Regions from separate parts of the Homo sapiens genome. Here region 1 is linked to region 2. Evidence: promoter capture Hi-C in 16 types of primary human blood cells and fetal thymus (Javierre and others, 2016). All regions are on one chromosome and are shown on one strand. Each heading gives the region's core, a stretch centred on a gene start or on the middle of the fragment in contact. The rest is flanking DNA. Distances are from core to core; before and after follow the strand shown. Region 1 overlaps MARCHF3 (membrane associated ring-CH-type finger 3). Region 2 holds the start of CEP120 (centrosomal protein 120).

Region 1 (4,858 bases), core at 473-2,972, 3.6 Mb before region 2:
ATTTTTTTTTATCATACTTTAAGTTCTAGGGTACATGTGCACAACGTGCAGGTTTGTTACATAGGTATACAAGTGCCATGTTGGTTTGCTGCACCCATCAACTCATCATTTACATTAGGTATTTCTCCTAATGCTATCCCTCCCCAGCCCCCCACCACCTGACAGGCCCCAGTGCGTGATGTTCCCCTCCCTGCGTCCAAGTGTTCTCATTGTTCAATTCACACCTAAGAGTGAGAACATGCGGTGTTTGGTTTTCTATCCTTGTGATAGTTTGCTGAGAATGGTGGTTTCCAGCTTCACCCATGTCCCTGCAAAGGACATGAACTCATCCTTTTTTATGGCTGCATAGTATTCCATGGTGTATATGTGCCACATTTTCTTAATCCAGTCTATCATTGATGGACATTTGGGTTGGTGAATAGTGCCTTTCTATTTGCTATTGTGAATAGTGCCGCAATACATATAGGTGTTCATGTGTCTTAGTAGCATGATTTATAATCCTTTGGGTATATACCCAATAATGGGATCACTGGGTCAAATGGTATTTCTAGTTCTAGATCCTTGAGAAATCGCCACACTGTCTTCCACAGTGGTTGAATTAATTTACACTCCCACCAACAGTGTAAAAGCATTCCTATTTCTCCACATCCTCTCCAGCATCTGTTGTTTCCTGCCTTTTTAATGATCTCCATTCTAACTGGCATGAGATGGTATCTCATTGTGGTTTTGATTGCATTTCTCTGATGACCAGTGATGATGAACATTTTTTCATGTGTCTGTTGGCTACATAAATGTCTTCTTTTGAGAAGTATCTGTTCATATCCTTTGCCCACTTTTTGATGAGGTTGTTTTTTTCTTGTAAATTTGTTTAAGTTCTTTGTAGATTCTGGATATTAGTCCTTTGTCAGATGGGTAGATTGCAAAAATTTTCTCCCATTCTGTAGATTGTGCAGTACAAATTCATTTAAAAAATAAATTTTTTTGTGTACAATACACATAATTTTTCATTTGAACTCATAACAGTAGTTCACCCTTGTCTGCAGGGAATGTGTTCTAAGTCCCACAGTGGATACCTGAAACTATGGTTAGTAATAAAAGCTATATGTACTATGTTTTTTTCCTACATGTATATACTTATGGTAAAGTTTAATTTATAAATTAGGCACAGTAGAGATTAACAACAATAACTAATAATAAAAGTAGAACAATTATAACAATATGCCAGCATCACTACTCTTAGGGCCATTATTAAGTAAAGTAAGGGTTCCTTCGATTCTGGCAACAGTTGATCTGATAATGCAGAGGGCTACTAAGTGACTGACAGGCAGGGAATGTAGACAGCATAGACGTGCTGCACAAGCAGAGGATGCATGTCCAAGTAGGATGGAGTGGGACAGCATGAGATTTCATCATCAGAACGGTGCACAGTTTAAAACTTATGAATTCTTTGTTTCTGGAATTTTCCATTTTATATTTTCGGGCCATGGTTGACCAAGGGTAACTGTAACTGCAGAAAGTGAACCCACAAATAAGTGGGGGGATGTACTGCTGTATCCACTAAAATGATTTATTCTTAGAACTATGTTCTTAGTGATTCTAGGTAATCATGAAGGTACAAGTTGAAAAATAGCTTTACCTCAGATTTTAGTTTGGAAGGGGTTGACAGAAATGAAGCAGAATGCTTTCCTCCAAAGTCCTTTTCTATGGCTTTCAGCTTGGGACCTTCTCCACTAAAGTGTGTGCTTTTGTGTTTTTTTCTTTCCCTGTCATTCTGTGGGTGGTGTCATTTGCCAACTAAATTGTGAGGCATTATTTTCTGGGGCTTGCAGTGTGACTTTCCCATTCAACTGAATAAATAATCATTTAACGTTGGCAAGAACTTCACTTTCCCCTCCTCCCTGCTCATCTTCCCTCGACCTTTCCCCAGGTGATCTCAAAAGCTCTGTTGTCTCTTCACATGGTGTCAGCCTAAACCTACTTGACATTGTTTTCTAGTCCTCTGGTGTTCCCTCTACAGAAAAACTTGTTAGAGTAACTTACTATGAAATATACTTCTGAGCTAAACTTCCCATGTCATATTTTCAAAAGCATATCTGAATTTTATGGTGAGTAAAATACATCCGTATTTGAAAGTAATTTCTCAAATTTATTTATTTTTAACTGACATATAATAATTGTACATATTTATGGGGTACATAGTGATGTTTCAGTACATACAATGTGTAGTGATCAGATCAGGGTAATTATCATATCTATCATCTCAAACATTTATCATTTCTTTGTGTTGGGAACATTTAATATATCTTTTGTAGCTATCTGAAACTATATAATATATCATTGTTAACTATAGTCATTCTGCAGTGCTATAAAACACTACAGTGCTATAAAACTAGAACTTGTTCCACCTACATAGCTGGAATTTTATATCCTTTAACCAATTTCTGCCTATCCCCAACTTCCTCCTACCCTTTCTAACCTCTAGCAATCGCTGTTCTGCTTTTTACTTCTGTGAGATCAAGTGTTTTAGCTTCTGTTATGAGTGAGAACATATGGTGTTTAGCTTTCTGTTCCTGGCTTATTTTACTTAACATAATGTCCTCCATTTCCATCCATGTTGCTGTAAAATTACAGAATTTCATTCTTTTTTAAGGCTGGATAGTATTCCATTGTGTATATATACCACATTTTTTAATCCATTCATCCATTGATGGACACTTAGGTTGATTCCATATTTTGGCTATTGTGAATAGTGCTGTAATAAACATGGGGCTGCAGATATCTCTTCAGTATATTAACTTGCTTTCCTTTGGATAAATTCCCAATTGTGGGATTGCTGGATCGTACAGTAGTTCTGTTTTTAGTTTTTTGAGGAATCTCTATACTGCTGTTGATAATGGCTGTACTAGTTTACATTACCACCAGCAGTGTATAAGATTGTCTTTTTGATAGTAGCCATCGTATCTGGGGTGAGTTATCTCATTGTGGTTTTTATTTGCATTTCTCTATCAGCGATGCTGAGCATTTTTCCATATACCTGTTGGCTCATTTTTAAATTGGATTATTTGATTTTTTGCTATTGAGTTGTTTGAGTTCTCTGTATATTCTGGATATTAATCCCTTATCAGATGAATGCTTTGCAAATATTCTATTCTTCAGGTTATTGGTTCACTTGGTTAATTTTTTTCTTTGCTGTGCAGAAGAATTTTAGTTTTATGTAATCCCATTTACTTATTTTTGCATTAGTTGCCTGTATTTTTGAGTTCTTAATCATAAAATCTTTTCTCAGACCAATGTCCTGAAGCATTTCCTCTATGTTTTCTTCCAGTTGTTTTATAGCTTCAGGTCTTACAATTAGGCCTTTAATCCATTTTGAGTAGATTTTTATATAGGGGCAGAGGTAGGATCTAGTTTCATTCTTCTGCATATGGATATCCATTGCTTTTAGCACCATTTATTGAAGAAACTGTTTTTTCCCCAATGGATGTTCTTGGCACCTTTGTCAAAAATCAGTTGGCCTTATATAGATGGATTCATTAATTTCTGGGTTTTCTGTTTTGTTACATTGGTCTCTATGTGAGAGTAATTTTTAATCTAATTCATCCAGATTGTGTTTATGTTATGCATCAGAGACAAGTCAGAAAAAGAAAGGAAGAGGATGTTATGATGTTGTCTGCATCGTACTTCCCTCTTACGGATCCTGGCAGGGATCCCTTTCCTCCTCACTTAATAACTTGGGTAGATTTGGGTGTATAATTGTGAGAACTCATCAGGATCCAGGTGAAAATGAGACCAGTAATTAAAGGGCTGGGTCAATGTATCATTATTATTTAAGTTAAATGGGTACATGGTCTATGTAAGCTCTTGTCAACTGCCTTTGACAGCAGTTTTCATATACAGTAGATTTAGCCCTGTCTTAACGGAAGCTTTTCTTTTCCTTTCCTTTTAATTTTATTGTTGTTCTTGTTGTTGCTTTCTAAGCTATGTGGGTGAAAAACAGCATGAAGTTATAACAAAATGTATAGCAAAAGCAGTAACAATGAGAAAGAGTCCATGATGGATACACACACATTGCTGGAATATTTCTCAAGTATTTTGGGGAGTGGCTGTGAGGCTTCTTTGGCAGAGGAAAAGTGGAACATGTGCTTTTCCATGTGTGAACACTGTGATTTGAAAGGTCCATTATGATTCACTTCCACTAGAAAGCAACTGCTTTCTAGCTGGTGTAGCCACAGAGTTTTGAAAATTCACTTAAATAGGTGTATTGCAGACTCCTGACATCTGTTTTGGAGATTCAGTTGAGTGTTGGGAATTTGCTTGTTCACAAGTGACATGGAATGAGTTATTCTTATGAGAGTGTTGAACTCTATTCATTTCTTTAAGGTTGTGGATTAAGTCTAACAAGAAAAGACTTAAAATTTTGAACAGTCATTTGCTGTGTTACACACACACATAAATTTGCACTGATTGCATTCTTCTTAATTTCAAAAACTATGAATGACAATTTTACTTTGCCTAGTAAATCAACTTTACTGAGGTACCCTCAGGCATATTTTGTTGTATTGTAAGGCTTTCTTGCTAGGTATTTGCAATCTTATTGTGTACTGTTTTTCAGTGAGCTTTTAGTTTTTGCCCATAGTTTTACCTAACATATCCTGTGTCTCTGTCTTTTTGTGCACTTCTGTTCCATCTCTGAGTATTAGTTTTTGTCTACTCTTTTTATCATTATTAATAAGTTATTTTCACTTCTCTAATGATTTCAAACCTCAATGATACTAGAAGTATTGTTTCCTATCACTTTCAACAAAGGTCATTTGTAGCCAGTTCTTCAAACAAAATAAGTAACTAGGACATGAGTCTT
Region 2 (4,841 bases), core at 1,417-3,916:
ACTCTGATCTTCTGGGGTACTCATTCCATCAGAGGTACTTGGGCCTCTCTTTGTCTATAATGCTAAGTACTGTCTTGCACCACTGATAACATTATACTTCGCTTGTGGTTAATTTGTTTCCTAATCTTTAAGTGTTGTTAATGTGTACATATTTATTAGACTTCTCAACAGAGGATATGTTAAACCACAACATTGGTATTATACCAACAAAATTCAGACTGTGGTAAACTCTGCAGACACGACCAGTTTCTTCAATAAAGAATTTCAAGAAAAAAAAAAGAAGGATTGGGTACCTCCATTAGTCCGTTTTCATACTACTATAAAGAACTGCCCAAGACTGGGTAATTTCAAAAGGAAAGAGGTTTAATTGACTCATAGTTCAGCATGGCTAGGGAGGCCTCAGGAAACTTATGGTCATGGCAGAAGGCAAAGGGGAAGCAAGGCACCTTCCTCACAAGGCAGCAAGAAGGAGAAGAGTGAGTGAGTAAAGGGGGAAGAGCGCTTAATAAAACCGTCAGATCTCCTGAGAACTCACTGACTATCAGGAGAATAGCATGGAGGAAACCACCCCCATGATTCAATTACCTCCATCTGGTCCCTTCCTTGACACTTGGGGGTTGTGGGGATTACAATTCAAAATGAGATTTTGGTGGGGGCACAAAGCCTAACCATATACATTAAAAAAGACAAGAGACATACCAACCATTGTATTTTGGAACTTGTTTGGATCCTGATTTGAAAAAACCGACTGCAAACAAATTATTAGACAATCAGAGAAATTTGAACAGTATATATTTAATGGGATTAAGAAATTTTTGTTAATTATTAAGTGTAATAATGGGATTGTGGTTAAATACTTAATATTTTAAGATTCTTTAAGAAGTCGTTATCTTTTTTTTTTTTTTTTTTTTTGAGACTGAGTCTTTCTCTGTGGCCCAGGCTGGAGCGCTGTGGCATGATACCGGCTCACTGCAACCTCTGCCTCATGATTTCAAGCGATTCTCGTGCCTCAGCCTTCTCGTGCTTCAGCCTCCCAAGTAGCTGGGATTTCTGGCTTGCGCTACCACGTCTGGCTAATTTTTGTATTTTTAGTAGAGACGGAGTTCTGCTATGTTGGCCAGGTTGGTCTCGAACTCCTGACTCAAGTGATCCGCCCACCTCAGCCTCCCAAAGTGCTGGGATTACAGATGTGAGCCACTACCACACCTGGCCAAAAAGTCTTCATCTTTTAGAAGTACGTATCCAAAAAGATGAATTGATGTGATGTTGGGGATTTCTTTAAAAATAACACAACAGATGAAGATGATTGGTCTTAAGTTGATAATCGTTGAAGCTGGGGTCTGGGTAACTGGGGGTTCATTATATCATTCTGCTTTCTTTAAAGTATGTTTGACATCTTCCACAAAAATAATGCATTGTTCAATGATGAATCCAAAGTAGATCATTACTTTGATTTTACATTGAATAGTGCTTCATTTTAAGAATGCCTGTGATAGGACCTGAAAGGGCCTTAGAAGTAATTAGTCCAATCTCTACATATTCCTCCTTTTCTTTTGGGCAGAAAGCAAAGAAGGAAGAATAAAGAAGAGGAAGAAGAAAACAATAGTGATATTATATTATTTGCTCTCAAAATAACTTCTAAATTTCCAAAACAAGGAAGCAATAGAAGAAAAAGAAAACAGCGAGATATTATATTTGCTCTCAAAACAACTTCTCAATTTACAAAACCAGAAAGTAATAGGAGAAGCCGCACTTATGTCCACTACCTAGTGCTATCTCTGCAGCTTTATTTTATTATGATTTACTTTTGTTTTCCGAAGCAGAATTTTTCCCAAACTTAATAGTGTCCACGATCGCTCCAACCAATTCGGTTATTTAAGTTTCAAGCTAGATAACCTCCAAAAGAACTTTGCCTTTGACTTGAATACATGCTTCTTGCAATTTGAGTAGTGTTTAGGAGGCCGTTCCCTTTACAAGTCTTGAACCGTTTCTTAAATCTGAATTTGGGAGACGTTAAGGGGAAAGGGTCGGCAGACAGCACCTCAATGCCTTGTTTATTTTTGGTTTTGAGTTTGCTAATAACTTTGTCATCGGGGGTGGAAGAACCTTTATATTTCATTGCCCACGTGACAGTGTTTTTGTTTTAGGGGTAATTTCTAAGGGACAGGAAATTCTCGGGGAGTTTACGTCAGCTTTAACAAGTACAGTAATTACCGTATTGAAGCTACTTGTTTTCAAAGGTCGGAAATTTGAGGTGCCGCGTGAGCACGATTTAGGGACTTTAGAGTTTAGATTTAAGTCATTATTTTTTTGTGATTTAATTTTTTAAGCAGTGTTGACACTGGGTACGTCAACTAAGCTAGGTTTTTTTGTTTTTTTAATCCCCACTAATATAACTCTCAGGTTGTGGCTGAAGCATAAAGCAGGTAATACGCTACACTCACGCTCCTTAAAGGCTACGCAGCTTCAGGAAGCGTTTACAGCAGTAGTGCGCTTGCGCAGCTGGTCCCACACCAAGTCGCCCGCCTCTCCTCGTCCGGCTAGCAGAGGGCGCTGTGAGGTAATGAAGGCGTCCTCCTTAGGGCTCTGGAACAGAGCGTAAAAGGGCGGGAGGCGAAGCTCGCTGACGGGCGTTCTAGCCTTGACTGCTCTGTCTCTATCACCCGTTGTCCTCCAACCTCCCCTGGGCACTGGGCCTGCGGGCCTGGTTGCTAGGCGGAAGCTGGGCGCGGCGGCGGCCGCTGCGGCCGCCCGGGCGTTTGAAAAGCGGCTACGCAGGCGGCAAAAGGTCCTCGGGTGGCGGGCTTGTCTCTGCTTGCAGACTGGCAGGGCTGCAGCGTGGCTTTTTCCTTGAGTCGGGGCACAGTTAGGATCTGGGCTGGCGGCCCGAGGCAGAGGAGCCGGGCGCGCTGCAGCAGACGGCGGTGGGACCTGGCTGCGGAGCGGGGTCCGGGCATCAGGGACCGGGGGCGGGCAGTGGGGGTCCCGCCGGGGGTCCCGGATTACCCGCGACTCAACTGGACCTCACTTCCCCCCAGCCGCCTTCGCCCCCGGACCGCTCACCGCAACCATGGTCTCCAAATCCGACCAATTGCTCATCGTCGTGTCCATCCTAGAAGGTGAGCAGCCTGAGGCTTGCTTTTGCAACTGCTGCCTCCCGAGTTTTAAAAGCTTAGTGTGGGACCGAGGCCTTGTTAACCTTAAGAACCCTGTCATCTGTGCTTTTGTGGTCCCCACAGACTTGTTCAAAGTTGTACGTAGTGAGGTCTGTTAGGCAATTGATTTAAAAATCTCTCCAGGGATATGAGCGCTATTAGGGATAAGTGATATTTAGCGTGACTAGCCGTAGCCCCAGAGAATCTAGAGAAAACGATTTTCATCCAAAGCAGCACGTCGATGGCTTTTATATATGAGCTGAACGTGGTCCTGAGAAGCGCGTTCTGATCAGCGGTTCCCAATAATAGCACTTGTAAGAGCTTTGACTTGAATACAGGCTTCCTGCGATTCCAGAAGTGTTCCGGAGGCAATTCCCTTTACACGTCTTGCTGGAGGACTCAGGGGACTACAGTTCTTAAGAGGGTGTATTATACATTCCTTAAAAGGTGTGTTTTGGATGAATGACATTGGTTTATTGGGACTCATTGAGTGTCAGACACTGTGCTGGGAATGTAAGAATGAAACAGTCCTGATTCTAAAAAGCTAAGGATGTAGCAAGGAGAGTGTGTCAGCAAATAATTCATCAGGATGTGGAAGACCCTAATGAATGACCACCTCTGTCTAAGGAAACTGCGGAAGTTTCACTAGAGGAGGTGGCATTTTTTGGGGTCCTACAGATGATTAGGAATTTGTCAGGTGAAAAAAGGAAGGGCATTCCAGGCAAAGAGAAGAGCAGGGAGCACTTAAAGTATGGAAAAGCAAGACACGTTTTGCCTTGCTTAATTAAATTCACTCAGTAAACATTGGTTAAATTCAGTGTGGTTGGAGAACAGATTTGCAAGAAAGTGGAGGGCATAGGAGATAACAGGTGAATTGAGGACACTTTACGAATAGTATGTTAAGAAGGAGTCATCTTGAGCCAGAGCAGAAGCCTGGCTGCATTTTTTCCCCCATGGGAGAGTGTTTTATAAAGGCCTGGCACTGTGTGAGGGATGAGAGCAAAGGAAACATTGTAATCCTAATCTTTGAATTTTGGAACAAGAGACTGACCAGAAAAGCCATAAAGATTTGGAGCACTATTAACTGTTAGTTTACTTATTGTTTAAAAACATAGGACTGAAATAACCTTAAAATTTGGTTAACAACAGTTTTTAGACTTATAACTGACCATGCTATGAGGAAACAAATACCTCCATTCCCTCCAAGGATGTAGAGGTCTGTCCACGTGGGGAGATCACAGGACACAATATGTTGGGGTATAATATTTAAAATATGTGATATGTACTGTAAATATAGGTTTGAGGGTAGGGTGGGTGGGATGGCTGAAGTTCTTTAAATAATAAGTGAGCTTTAGATATGTGACAATAGAATTCTATGGACAACCCAGGCCAGTCTGACAACCCAGGACATAAATGCAATTCATTTGGGGAAGCTAGTTTTAGAGCAGCAGAAAATGAGGTCCTGAGAGAGGCCTGTTAGTGCTAATTGGGAGAGCTGTGCGATGTGTGTTAATATTCCTAATACAGAGTTTCAAGTGAGAGCCTCAGGCTTAAACTCAAAAGGTTAGCAGTCAAGGTCTTTCTGACCAGCTTGATTCCCAACCAAGTAGCTTGTGCCGGGGTGAGCATGGTGGGTGGAACATTGAAAAGATCAGCAAGATGACCAGGGTAGAGGAAGGTGAATAT

What was found. The method cuts DNA at HindIII sites, captures the fragments that hold promoters and counts their contacts. A CHiCAGO score of 5 or more calls a contact.
Region 1: a contact is called between a fragment that was not itself captured here and the fragment with the promoter of CEP120 in region 2, in 1 of 17 cell types (neutrophils). The highest score is 6.4, in neutrophils.

Annotation. Positions count from the first base shown.
Region 1 is chr5:127,012,415-127,017,272 of GRCh38, reverse strand. The region is part of intron 1 of MARCHF3 (membrane associated ring-CH-type finger 3); the gene reads left to right. Among named protein-coding and RNA genes, the nearest start is that of MARCHF3, 16 kb to the left of the region's middle. The HindIII fragment of the contact is 4,406 bases long and covers 1-3,925 here.
Region 2 is chr5:123,421,228-123,426,068 of GRCh38, reverse strand. It overlaps CEP120 (centrosomal protein 120), which reads left to right and starts at 2,666. Exons shown (of 20, transcript NM_001375405.1): 1 at 2,666-3,119. The coding sequence starts at 3,071. RefSeq lists a silencer at 2,966-3,125 and an enhancer at 2,455-3,400. The HindIII fragment of the contact is 3,797 bases long and covers 1-3,173 here.